Regions from separate parts of the Homo sapiens genome. Here all the other regions are linked to region 1. Evidence: promoter capture Hi-C in 16 types of primary human blood cells and fetal thymus (Javierre and others, 2016). All regions are on one chromosome and are shown on one strand. Each heading gives the region's core, a stretch centred on a gene start or on the middle of the fragment in contact. The rest is flanking DNA. Distances are from core to core; before and after follow the strand shown.

Evidence for each region. Contacts are between HindIII fragments. The CHiCAGO score rates a contact against its expected background, and 5 or more counts as called.
Region 2: a contact is called between a fragment that was not itself captured here and the fragment with the promoter of TFAP2A-AS1 in region 1, in 3 of 17 cell types (M0 macrophages, M2 macrophages and M1 macrophages). The highest score is 8.5, in M0 macrophages.
Region 3: a fragment that was not itself captured here is called in contact with the fragment with the promoter of TFAP2A-AS1 in region 1 in 1 of 17 cell types (endothelial precursors); the score reaches 5.8 in endothelial precursors.

Annotation. Positions count from the first base shown.
Region 1 is chr6:10,409,697-10,414,180 of GRCh38, reverse strand. It overlaps TFAP2A-AS1 (TFAP2A antisense RNA 1), which reads right to left and starts at 1,863. Exons shown (of 3, transcript NR_033910.1): 1 at 1,814-1,863. TFAP2A (transcription factor AP-2 alpha) reads left to right here. Exons shown (of 7, transcript NM_001372066.1): 2 at 3,846-4,280. RefSeq lists a silencer at 1,264-1,623. The HindIII fragment of the contact is 20,769 bases long and covers 1-4,484 here.
Region 2 is chr6:9,539,031-9,543,588 of GRCh38, reverse strand. No RefSeq gene overlaps it. Among named protein-coding and RNA genes, the nearest start is that of TFAP2A-AS2, 860 kb to the left of the region's middle. The HindIII fragment of the contact is 5,665 bases long and covers 1-4,558 here.
Region 3 is chr6:9,504,138-9,509,245 of GRCh38, reverse strand. No RefSeq gene overlaps it. Among named protein-coding and RNA genes, the nearest start is that of HULC, 850 kb to the right of the region's middle. The HindIII fragment of the contact is 5,017 bases long and covers 859-5,108 here.

The DNA.
Region 1 (4,484 bases), core at 614-3,113:
CTTCTGCACCAGCCCAGAACGACCGTGGGAATCCTTGCGCGGCTGCAGACCACCTCTGGTGCCGCAAGCCCGCTGGGCCGACAGAGCGCGCCGCTTTGGAACCCATTTTAAAACGCAGAGTCCCCTGAGCTCGCCTTCTTGAGGCAGCAAGGGAGACCCTAGCGCGACCTGTCCACCCGCAGGAGGCGCTGGGAACGGTTACAACCAACACTGTAATGAGCAATGAGTCCGAGAGAGGGGTTGGGGTGTGTAGGGCTGGAGATTACCTAAATAAATAGGTGGCAGTCCCAACTTTTGCTGTTTTTTTTTTTTTTCTTTTTTGGCATTTGCAGCTGAGAATGTTAGGCAGGAGGTGTGTGTGCAGGCGCAGGGGCGGAGATCTTGACTTCACTCGAAACCAGAAATTGGGTTTATGTGAACGATGTGTCACCCGCTCCCTCCTCCCTTTTCTTTCTGAAGATTATTTTAAATCGTTCTCCTTTCAGGCCCCCCACCCCGGTAGATGGGGACGGGGTGACATCCCACGGGTACTGGCTCTTCCCTGGGGGGGTCCTGTCGCGCTAGAGGAGGGGCGCAGGGACCCCACGTCAGACCAGTCGCTTTGTTTTCGAGGCTGGGGGCGAGCTTTGCGGGCAGGTAGGAATGAAGCCGAACCCCTCAGTCTCATAGGACAATTCATACTGTACTGGTCTGGGCTTTGGCCGGAGGCTTGGGCATTTCACTTTCGCAGAGGCCGAAACCCAGCTCCAGGTGTGGGCGCCCTCGGCGGGCGGGGTCCGAACCTCCGTGCGGCTCTAGGTGCCGACTGGATGGGGTGGGTGGCTAGGTGGGGGATGAACTTGCACCCCTAGAGGGATCCTGTGGGGGCAAGTGTGAATGCGTGTGTAAGCGAGGCAAAAAAAGATGAGAGAGAGAGGAGAATAAAGTCAAAGCTGTTTCCACAACTTTGGCCGTGGTGGGCAAGCGCCGGAGCGGGGATTTCGGGTTTCGGAGCTGGCTTGGGGCAGTCTGATTGTGCCGGGGCTCTGTAGGGACACGCAGGAGGCGAGGTGCCGCTTGTTCTGACAACCTGGCGGGTAGACTGGCAAAGGCAGCACGCCGGGAGAGCTAGTCGTGTCATCTGGGGGGGCGTCAGGCGGGAGTGGCCCAGCCAGTCGGACGGGTTTTTGCCGGGAGCCGCGAGCCGGTGCCAGCGGCGCCCGGGCTGGGCCGCCTAGCGTCTGTGCGCGCCCCGGCCCGCATCCCGGCTCCCGATCCGGAATCCCCGGCCCCAGAGAGCCGAGGGCAGAGCGACGGTGGCCGGGGAGCGCACGGTGCCCCTGTCCGAGGAAAGCTCAAGAGGAGGCCGAGGAGAGGACCAGTGCAGCGAGCGGGCCGGTCCCGGGCAGGGCGCCGGGTCATGGAGGAGCCGCGCAGCAGCGGGCAGCCGAGTCCCGAGTCCCAGACTCGGCTGCGAAGCGGCGGAGCCCGCGGCCAGACAGGGCCGGGAAGCGCCTGCCGCGCCGAGAGCCCCACGAGCGCCCGGACGCGGTCCCAAGCAGCTCCTACCCGCTACGCACGACCCCCGCTGCATCCCGAGGTCTGCCCCAGCCTTTTAGGTCTGATTGTCCTCGCTCGCTTCCTCTCCCCTTCCCCCTCCCCCGCGGCCTCCCCCTCCGTGCGCTCCGGCTGGGCCCCCTCCCCCTCCCTCCCTCCCTTCCTCCCTCCCTCTTTCCCTCCCTTCCTCCTCTCGGGCTCTCCCTCCTTCCCTCCCTCCCCTCTCCCCACCCGGGGCTCCTCTCCCTCGCCCACACTTTCTTTCTCACACACGCACGCAGACACATTCTCCCTCTCTGCGCTCTCTCCTTCGGTCTCCCTCTCTGCCTCTTTCTCTTTCACTTTTGCATGCCCTGCAACCTTTTAAAATGTTGCCCCTTCCCTGTGATTCGCCAGACGCCGCGCCGCGGCCCCCCGCGCGCTCGCCCGCTCCCTCTCTCGCTCGCTTTTTGTCTCTCGCGCTCCCTCTCCCCACTCCGATTTGCTACACTGAGACTCCCGTCAATGGACTGCATTGAGAGCCGGCTCCGGCGCGAGTTGCCTCTCCGCTTCACGCTCGATTTCCAGGCATTCTTCCCTTATTAAGTATTCGTGTAATATTAATAGTCATGAATATCTGCTATTAGGAGGCTCCAGGAACGCTGCCCAGCGCGGTTATTAGAAGCTCAAGCGAAGCCGCCGCTAAGAAAAGAGGGGGAGACACGGATTAAGGAACACGCACGCACCCACACACTCACACATACTTTTTCCTTTTTCCTTTTTTGGGGTTTTTCATTTTTAAAGAACTTTGAATCATAACCAGTCGCGGCAGGATAGAGACCGTGGGTTCGACCAGCTGAAGGCGCCGCGCGAATCGGTGGTTCAAGTTCGGATGGATCCGAGCCGGGCTCCCGCGCTCCGGGGAGCGTCGGCGCCGTGACTGGAGTCCTGGGTGGCGCGGGGCTCTCGGCGCCTTTTGTGTGGGGCGCGCTCGGGCGGCGGGGCAGCCGGGCGCTCCAGGCTTGCTTGTTTTTTTCCACCCTGACTCGTTACCCCAGACTCTTCGCAGATGTTAGTTCACAGTTTTTCAGCCATGGTGAGTCCCATCCCCACCCCCGTTGCTGTTTCTTTAGGAATTGGATTCTGGAAACCTGGTGCCGTGGAGCTGCCCGAAACCTCGGGTTTCACGCCCAGCTTTCCTTCAGGACACCCTCTCCATTTGCATCCCCCACCCCACCTTCCGCCTTTCTCTCGCTCTTTTCCATCCCTAAATCGAGTGCATTACCCCCTACCCCAGCCCCCGCTCGACCTCTCCGAGCACGCAGACCTACCTCGCCGCGGCTTCCCAAGGCGTGTTTCTCCCCACGTTCATCTTGATTTCCTTGAGTCTTCACTTGTCCCCGAGATGTTCTCAACATTTGATGCTTAAACTGTCTGCAGGAAAAGTGCAGCGCGGTGTGCCCCCTACCCTCGGGACCTGCGGCCGAACCGCCGAGGGTTCGCGGTCTCTGGAATCAACTCTCTTCGCTTGTTTTGCAAGGGAATTGCAATAGAGAAACCTAAAGTCAGGCGTTTCTTCTGCCCTTTGGGGCTGGGGTGGAAGGGGCGGGGGGGGGGGGCCACAGCCCCGGGGTGCACCTCTCTCTTTTAAACCCAATAAGGCTGAATCTTTCTATTTTAAACCTTGACTTGACGTCCCCCTTTCCCTATCCAAACCATAAATCGACTCTGTCGAGAAAAAGGCTCCTAACAGAGGAAGCGAAAAAGACAGACCCCGATCCTGCAGTTAAAACCTTCTTTAAGCTGGTAATTTAAACGTGTGTTTTTGTTACAGCCCCTCTGCGAAATATGTTTCTATTTAAGTAGTCATGAAACGGTAACAGTCTTTGAACGTTTATGATTTTTTTCTCTCCAAATAAATGGAAGAGAATAAACAATAACGCAGTGGCAGACAGGTTCAAATCGGGGGAAAAGAAAAGGCCGCTTCTGCTGTTTAGTATTTAGGAGGAATTTTAATTTTGCTTAAGAGAGATTTCACGCTGCAGTTTAATGGGCTGTGTTCCAGGAGACCCTTTTCTATCTTTTCCTCTCTTTGAAAGAAACCCCTAAATAGTCTCTTGTGCCCCCTCCATATACAGTTTCTCTGCGTTGTTCGGTCTGTTTCACTTGAGGGTATTTCCTGAAAAGAACTTAGAGCTGATTTTTTCCCGGCGGCCAGCCAACGGGAACGGGCGATTTCCCACGCAGACTTGTCAAGTGGATTTTGTGTGGATAGTTGTAGCTCGACGCCTGATTCCTTGTTCTTTACCTTTCCTCTCGCTCTCTTCTAGGACCGTCACGACGGCACCAGCAACGGGACGGCACGGTTGCCCCAGCTGGGCACTGTAGGTCAATCTCCCTACACGAGCGCCCCGCCGCTGTCCCACACCCCCAATGCCGACTTCCAGCCCCCATACTTCCCCCCACCCTACCAGCCTATCTACCCCCAGTCGCAAGATCCTTACTCCCACGTCAACGACCCCTACAGCCTGAACCCCCTGCACGCCCAGCCGCAGCCGCAGCACCCAGGCTGGCCCGGCCAGAGGCAGAGCCAGGAGTCTGGGCTCCTGCACACGCACCGGGGGCTGCCTCACCAGCTGTCGGGCCTGGATCCTCGCAGGGACTACAGGCGGCACGAGGACCTCCTGCACGGCCCACACGCGCTCAGCTCAGGACTCGGAGACCTCTCGATCCACTCCTTACCTCACGCCATCGAGGAGGTCCCGGTAAGAGGCCGCGCAACCAGCGCGGGAGGGAACACAGCCCCCTACTTACCTACCCCAGAAAGGATACCTGGAACATACAGTCGGTGGGCCCGGGTTCTCCCTAGTATTTCCTTATAAAAACATTTTATTCGGAGGCGGAGAGTGAGGGACGTTTTGAGGAACCACACAAAGTAGTTGCGAGTTCTACCCCAGAACAATGGTTTC
Region 2 (4,558 bases), core at 489-2,988, 870 kb after region 1:
TTGCAATAGACTCAATAAGGTTTCTTTATTTTGCCAAGTCAGATTGAGGTTACTCAATCTATCAAAGGTGAATACTTGTTTGAGCAAATAGTGAGCCCTGGGCTTGGGCATGTGTGCCAGTGATTAGAAAGAAACCTGTAATGCCAAAAGAGGAAATCAGTGGCAATGTAAGGAGAAAGTAACGGGATCAAAGAGGATGATGCCGATGTCCATCATACAAGGCTCTTAACAAAACTATAGGTCACATAAACAGGAGAGTTCGGAGGTATTTATGAGCACAAACTAACAGGTTAAATATTTTATGGTCTATCCATAATTTAGAATAATACGCAGTTATTAAGAATCATTTTTTCAAGAATATTTACTATTCCTAAGAGTGCATTCCCAGTTAAAAGGGGAAAATTATCATTAAAACTATTATAAAATGATCCTGAATTTATAACTTGTAGCAAATATAATAAATACATGATAAGACTTTATATTGTTTTATAAATAAAAAGAGGAAAGAAGTTAATCAGAATATCAGAATTATTGGTAATTTGTTATCTTCTTTATATAGTTCTGTATTTTTTACATTTTCTATAATAATATGAAGTACCTTATATTTATGATCACAGAAAATAAATGCCATCAAATATAAGATGGCCATAGTGACAAACTCAGTTAATACCTAAAAACAAGTGAATTATATGTCTTGTAAGTTAGATATCACATGGATAACATGTAAAATTGCACTTATAATTTGATTTAATGGTTTATGTTCTAGTATATAAAATAGTACAGAATGTTAAATATACATGAATAGAAAATGATATAAGAATTTAACATCTAACTACCTTTACGAAAGTAGTACCATTTCCCCCATTTCCCTCTTATAGTACAAACCAATCATTCAAGCATACTTTTAAATAGCATTTCTTGTATTTGAAAAGTTATTGAGTAATCAAACAGTGACCTTTCGTACTCCACCAAGAAATGCAATTCAGCTTTGTATAGCTTCCATACTAATCAATATCCTATTATGATCACAGACGAGATTTTTACAACTGAGACACAGCAGCTAGAGTACCAGATACGCTTTTGTTTTCTCTAATGCCAGAAATTTTACGCCTTTGCATAAGAAACCATTTTAAGTAGGAACATTGCATTATTTCTCTTTTGAACAGAGCAATTAAGTTTTAGGTTCTATCATAATGCTATGAGAATAGGGTGTATTAACCATCATAGAGCCATTACCTCATAAGACTTATCTTTATAAAGAATATGTGAATCTCCTTTCATCTTGCTTATTTATTCTGAATGGGTGTGTAAAGATTGATGTGTAGCATACCATTCATAAATCAGACTACAGGAACGCCAAGAGATACTCACATCTAGAGCTGATACTATTATTAGGCTCCACCAACTGATTATCTAATACAGTATTTAGTCGATTAGTTCATTAATAATGATCAAACCGGTTGTGTACATCAATACAAATATATTTAAAATACTTATACGGCACTTCAAACTCTAACTCTTTTAGAAGTACAATCCAGGCAAAGGGTTGGCTGCTGATTTTAGCCTGCATGGGCTTCCAGGGCAAAGCCAGATCTATTAGAGGTTATGGCACAAACTATCAGTTGACTTACTGATGAATTAATATCTACGTTGAGAGGATCAGGGACAACTAATTTTAAATATCTCTTTGAACATGTATATAGCCAAAGATTTATAATCATTTCTTACATTACATTTTTATGCATTAGAAAACTTACCGTAATAAATAAATATAAATATCAGGGAGAGAAAGAAGATAGAGGATTACCACTACCGCCACCATGACCCAGGGGGATATTTTGTGAAAACTCTCGTTCTACTGCTAGCTAAATGAACCAAGACAGTAAATCCACAAAGACTTAGACATCATCACTAGAAACAAAGGTTGAATTTCAAAAGCATTATTGGCTCTTCTAGCTGCTATGTAAGTTCCAGGGGAAAAAAATCCTAATGACTCTTACTATATATGGCATTCAAGGAAAATAAAATATTTTCCATAGACTAAAGAAGGGCCATATATCTATTCTGTATACTCATTTGTCTAGTATGTGTTTCTATGGCCTTTCATTACAATAAACTCTTGATATTTTGGTTTGGGGCTTATTATCCAAAAGTGAGCAAGAAAGCAAAACTACAAAGTTATGTCATCCTGACTTTGAAGAGGTTTACTTTCTGTTTTGACGTCTATTGAATCAATGGCATCAGCCTCTTTAAAAGTACGCTAAGCCAATATTGAATCTTGTAAGGGAATTGCATAGATCTCTTAGATGGTCCTAATAGAGGCTTGCCCATTTGAGTCATGGGACTAAGGAAGAAATCCAGGGGCAGTAGCGCAGAATCATTATTGGGGATTATGTTCCAAAAAAAGGTATTAAAAAAACTAATACTAATAGTGCTTGCTATAAAATATTGAAAAAAACTCTAATACTAATAGTGCTTGCTATAGGCTGTATCTGTTCCCCAACTTCTTTATACATATTATCATTTTTTAAAATCTTCACAGCTATGCTGTGGAGTAGGTATTATTATCCCCATATTACAGATGAGGAAACTGAGGCACAGAAACAAATAATTTGCCCAACATTACATATTCAGGAAGTGCCTGAGCCATGTGTTTGAACTTGGGCAGCCAGTCTTCAAAACCCCCAAGCGCATTGCTTTCCCTCTGTTTAGAAACAACGTGGCAAGAAGTGAACTACCTGCTCCTCATAGTCACTGGTTCCTTTAGACAGCAGAAATTTTCTCTCCAAAGATAATGACTCAAGGGGAAATTTTAACATCAGCAAATAGGGCTTCAATTTGACTCCTTTTATCATCAGGAGTGTGATCTAGTGCCCTCTAGAGGGCAAAAGGGGAGATCATGAGCAATGCAGATTTTTTTTATGAACATAAGCAGAAAATTTGCATTAAGACAATATAGAATTGGAAGTTTGAAAAGCCTACATTCTTATTATTAAATCTCTCTATTTAAAAAATTTTTGTAAAGTTACTTGTCTTCCTGTAATATGGAAATGATAAACTTCTGGATGTTGTACAAATGAACTGCAGCCAAGATGATAATGTGAAAATATGGAACATAAGATAGTACATAGTAAAATCTTAAAATGACAAAAGTAATCATTTAGGTAGCCCAACTTTCACAGCTGCATGATTTTAAGACACCAACAATTACTTGAAGCAGGCTCAAATAAAAGAGAAGATAATTAGTGAAAAACCCATTGTTCTTTTGCAGGGAGACTTGGTATCACTCCAATCAACACAAAATTAGGTCATCTGCATTGCACATAAAGATACTCACCAAGCACCAAAAACCTGGCCTGGTTTTGAAGAAATCTGATTTCTCTACAAACCAGTGCTTTCTAGATGTGAAAATAAAGACTTTTTTTTCTCTAAGGCAGACAAAATATATAAATAATATTTTAGATAATTGGTACTCATTAAATACTTGATAAATTAGTGAATGAATTCTGGTTCTAGTTATACTAAAGGTCAAATACGCTTTAGTTTTTTTATGTATTGTCTAACTTCTCACCCATCTTTGTTGAACTAATGAAATGAAGATATCCATCATGATGTAACTGTGAGCTGGGAGGATCTAAATTACCTTCATCTGGCACCATTCCAATATACTATAAATGAGGTAATTGTCCTTGACTATAAAATTTGCATTTTCAAGACTTAATTGCTATCATTACATCTTTTTTGTAATTCTATTAATTTAACTGAATGGAGCGGTTGGTTTTATGGTTAAAAATTTGCATTAAAACATTGTACAACTAAATAGAATTTTAATATTTTTATCCAAAGTTCTATACAGTTATCCCAGAGGAGCTAAGTAATTTCACAAGAAAAAGTAGAGACCTGTCAACAAGCAGCTTTTACCTTCAGTGATCATTAACAGACCTTCAAGTCACCTGCAAATGCCTCATTCTGGGATTTGAGAAGCCACTGAGGCCATGCACTCCATGGATTCCTCCGACTTAATCATTAACAGGAAATCTATTAGCCATAGCCAAGGCATGGCTGGGTGCCCTTTCCTATGATCGTCTTGGTGTTTGAGGTGTTTCCATCTTATCCTCAGCTGAATGGGTCATTCTATATCTCCATGTGTTTTAGTTCAGTTGGAACATGCAGTCCTCGCTGCTCTCTCTCCTCCTGAGCAAGGTATTTACATGTACGTGTCTGATCTTCCAGCCACAGTTCATTGCACAGACTGGTTAGTAAAATGTTATAATTCTTCACTCCTACTGGAGGGGGCAGTTGAGAAAACTTTCCACCTTAGCCTTTGGAATCTTTGTGGTCACTTAACAATTATGCAGCCTTTTCTTAATAAATTTTAATGTATGTGCAGAACTTTTCTAGTCAATTAACACAAGCATTTTCTTAAGTAAAGACACAGAAAATTGCAGTTAATGAAATTGACATTTTACTTAACAATTCTCCAACCCTCTAGACCTTTGAAAACTACCAGCATCTTGGTTTTTGGACAACTGAGTTTGGTTAAAAATCAGAAAAGGAC
Region 3 (5,108 bases), core at 2,118-4,617, 910 kb after region 1:
AACTTAAGAAAACAAAATCCTAGACAACGTTTATATTGTACATCTTAAAAACGAGAAATAAATCCCATGGTAAAGACATCTGAGTTTCTGCAAAGACTCAAATTAGAGTTTAGGATAGAAAAGCAGAGGTATACTATATATATATATATATATATATATATACATATATTATGCAGCTATGTATTATGCAGATATATATTATCCATATATAGATATATAATACATATATTCAGATATATATTATACATATATACAGATATATATTACACATATATACAGATATATATTATACATATATACAGATATATATTATACATATATACAGATATATATTTAATATATACACAGATTATATATATATGTTTTGAGAGATGTGAATTCTGAACTAGTTCTTTAGATATAATAACTTGAAAATTTTAAAAATCAAAAATTTTGTGTTTAAAGCATGTATCCTAAAACAGTAAATATGAAGAAATTATGTATCTATTGCTACTTAAAAACAAGAGAAATGCTTACAACTGTCCAACAAACACTTTCAACAGATACATGCAAAAAATTATGGGCAATAATTTTTACTTTTACATATGTATTCATGTTTGATATCTAGAATAGAAATAGAGATTGCTGTTTTGGGGATTAACTTCACTTTGCTTTCACTTTAACTAGCCATACGCAGAGATTGAGGAAGGGATATATAAACCCCCAATGACACGATGGCTGATTTTGAATTGGCTGAATTCTACTAGATGTGTCCAAGTTAAATAACTTAGCAGAATTTAGCCATTTAAAAAATTTCACTGTTAATTTCATCTCAGGTTATTAGAATCAAAACTGTGAACGGAGAGTCCATATAAAGCTTAATTTTAATTTATATTTTTGTTATAATTTGGTTTTCAAATTCATCAGGCATTTGAGAACTGATGCTAAGCAGAGTCCTCATTTCATCACTGTAAGAGGTGAAGGTTTCCCAGGAAACGAAGCTGCCAGAAAGTTTCTTATATACTGGTTTGGCTAGACAGGGCACCGAGACAGAATGAAGGCATGCTATAGCAGAAGTGCAGCAAAGCACTATTCAGGGATGCCCAAATTGAAGAACTCTACTTGATTGATCTTGTGATGTACAGAATTATGAGGAATGAAAAATGGGGAATGCCAAGATCAAAGATAGAAAATGGTCAAAAAGATTCATGAAAAAGACACATCTTTAGAATCAGATAAATGAGATATAATTTTAACTTCTGGGAGCTTTCCCTATTAAAATGGGGGAAGCAACACCTACATTACAGAAGTATGGTAAGAATTAGAACTAAAACATCTGAAGGAAAATGGCTCAAGGCTTGGCATCTAAAAGGCATCTCAAATATAAATAATAACAGCAGCCAACGCTAATTGAATGCTTACAAGGCACTGAGTACTGATTCTCATTTTAGCTCGGTCTGTACTATTATCTCTTTTGTGCAGTTGAGAAAGCTCAGATGAAAACTAATGAATAAACCACTCAAGGTCATGCTGCTGTTAGAGGCTAGAGGCAGCTCTAGAATCCCAGACATCTGACCCTGGGGCTATCTAAATAAGCGATATTACTGTGTTAAACTGTATGACGTATCACACAAATGGAAAGTACCCTACTAGGCTCCATTATATTAATTATGAATTGACTTAGTGAGGGCTGAGGCTTAAAATGTCAATTGGGGTTAGGGATTAGGATGTAGTTTTCAAGGTAAATAGTTCTCCTGGTGTGGTCTTGGGACCAGTACCATTAGCATCACTTGAGAACTTGTTAGAAATGCAAGTTCTTAGGCTCCCACTCAGGCCAATTAAATCAGAAACTCTGGGGGTTGGGCCAAGAAATCTGTGTTAACGAGATCTCCTGTAGCTTCTGATGCACTGTCATTTGGAAACCACTGCCCTAGGTCAAACCATGCCATGATAGTTCCCACATCACGTCATGGTTTGATCTGGACTTTAGGAAAGTGACTGGTGGCAGGCTTGAAGCATAGAATGCACAGGAGGCTTACCTCAATTGTTCAGATGGGAAATACTGAAGGATTAATCCTGGATATTACTAATGAGTCTTCAAAGTCAGAGGGATAAGTGACAAGAAATAGCAAAGCCTCGTGCTACAGCCTGAATATTTTTGTTATCCCAAAATTCCTGTGTTGCTAATCCCCAGTGCAAGTCTATTAGGAGGTGCGGTCATTAAGAGGTGATTAGGTCATGGGGGTGGAGCCCTCTTGAATGGGATTAGTGCCCTTAATAAAGAGACCCTGGAGATCTGCCTTCCTTCTTCCACAGTGTGAGGGCACAGCAAGAAGGTAGCACCTATGATCTAGGAAACAGACCCTCACCAGACACGGAATCTGCCAGTTCCTTGATCTTGGACTTCCCAGCCTCTAGAACTGTGAGCAATGAATTTCTGTGGTTTATAAGCCACTCAGTCTATGGTATTTTTTATAGCAGTCTGAATGGATTAAGACACATGGTAACTGACTGAGTACAATAAACAGGAGCAGTAGAAGAGGAAATCATTGAAGAAAATATGAATATCTCTATCCTGAGAATCAGGTGGTTGTTGATGTCATTGATTAATACAAGGGGAAAATAAGGAAAAAAAAAAACAGGGGAAGTATATATTCAAGTTCTTTTAGTCATAACTATGGTCTTAGAGCAATTGTTAAGTTCTTTTCAAGTTGTAGGTCAATTTAAATCTATTCTTTTTGTCTCACATAACCCTCCCAATTGTCTGCTTCTAATTGTTTTTGAAAATGTGTAAAACATTGAACAATTTTTCTTTTCCTCAACCTTTAATGAATCTGTTCCCCTTTTCCATCTCCATCACAAGATTTGGAGTAGGAGGAAAGTTTGTAAAAGCCTGGGTCCTGCACTACTATCTTCCCAAAGGTGAGAGAAGGAGCCTGGTCTAATGAGAAAATTACGGGAAAAATTTTCACCTGACGTATGCTGTACATCTAATTAATCACCTTTCACTTTTTTAGATGTTAGGGAGTTTTCTAGTTTTCCCTCATTATAGTTTCCTCATCAGAAAAATGGGGATGAGGATATTTGAGATTACATAAGAAAGTGTTTGAAAACTACAAAATGCCAAAAAAGTCCAAGCTAGTGCTATCAGTAAGTTTTTAGAGCACATAACTAAAATCAAGAGAGATCTTACAGGTAGGAAATAGATTGTGGGGTAGGTGAATTACTTTCACAGAAAATCTACTTTCTGGCTGGGCGGGCGCAGTGGCTCACGCCTGTAATCCCAGCACTTTGGGAGGCCAAGGCAGGCAGATCACCTGAGGTCGGGAGTTTGAGACCAGCCTGACCAACATGGAGAAACCCTGTCTCTACTAAAAATACAAAAAAAAAAAAAAAAAAAAAATTAGCCAGGTGTAATGGCACATGCTTTTAATCCCAGCTACTCAGGAGGCTGAGTCAGGAGAATTGCTTAAACCTGGAAGGAGGAGATTGCGCTGAGCCAAAATCACACCATTGCACTCCAGCCTGGGTAACAAGAGCAAAGCTCCGTCTCAAAAAGAAAAAAAAGAAAAGAAAAGAAACAAGAAAAAAAGAAAATCTCCTTTCTTTTTTGCCACATTGTCTTTGAGGAAACACAAGAGTTTTTAGATTTTCCTGCCTTTGGTAGGTGTACCCTGAACAATAAAGAAAACAACAGGTGAAACCCTTTCAAAACTGGCATTTTTAGTAATGGTATGTAAAAAATAATCGGTCTATGACCTCAGCTTTTGCATCTATTCTCATTATTAGCGTTTGACCTCTTGCGGGGACTTGTGTCTGGGCACTTTAGTTCAAAAGAAAAAACTCTCATGAGAGAAAGGTTCGTGGGGTTTGGGGAGGAGAATCACAGATTCCACAGTGAGTTCCTTCTTGTAAACTGTTTTATAGTTAGAAACTTTTAACAACCAAATTAGTTATTGCATCAATGTAACAGAAAAATAGTACTTTCTATTTTTAGTGAATCTGCAAATTCGCTAATCTTTAATAAATGTGTTACTGGAAAGGTGTCCCAATCCAGACCCCAAGAGAGGGTTCTTGGATCTTTCACAAGAAAGAATTCGAGGTGAATCCATACAGTAAAGTGAAAGCAAGTACTAAGAAAGTAAAGGAAGAAAGAATGGTTACTCCATAGGCAGGGCAGCCCCGAGTGCTGCTGCTAGTTGCCCACTTTTATGGTTATTTCTTGATTAAATGTTAAACAAGGGGTGAATTATTCATGCCTCCCCTTTTTAGACCATATAGGGTAACTTCCTGATGCAGCTATGGCATTTGTAAACTGTCATGGGGCTGGTGGGAGTGTAGCAGTGAAGACGACCAGAGGTCACTCTCATCGCCATCTTGGTTTTGGTGGGATTCGGCTGGCTCCTTTACTGCAAACCTGTTTTATCAGCAAGGTCTTTATAACCTGTATCTTGTGCCGACCTCCTATCTCATCCTGTGACTTAGAATACCTTAACCATCTGAGATTGAAGCCCAGTAGGTCTCAGGCTCATTTTACCTAGCCCCTATTCAAGATGGAGTTGCTTTGGTTCAGACACCTCTGACAAATGGATTCAAAGAATTATCAAAAAAACTAAATAATTTTACTAGTACAGACATATCTATTAATTCTAGTTATTCTTCTAATAATTAGAACTAAAATAACTCATGCAATGTTCACATAGAAACACCAACCTTTAATCCCCATGTCTAGTGCCATATTTAATGACTATTGAATATCCTCATTAAAATTCATGTTTAGCTATTACCTGAATTATAATTGTTCTCCCACCACACCTGTATTCTGATGAGTCAATACTCACACCCGTGTATGTCCACCTCTGTGAGAACAGTTGCTACTGGTGATATATTCTTCCATAATAGAGATTTCTTTTTTCCCCCAGGTGAGGGTTGATGCCTGGCAGTGAATACACATTCGGCAAAAAGCCACATAATGTGTTTGCTTTTGATCCTCTGGGAATTATTCTACTGCCTACTGAAGCAAAAGGTGCCTGGGCAGGTTGGCAGCTGCAAATCTACTCTTCACAAAATGTTAGAATTGCAGCTACTAGAAGCCCTGAAAGGTTCTTAATACAAAATCATACTTAGTA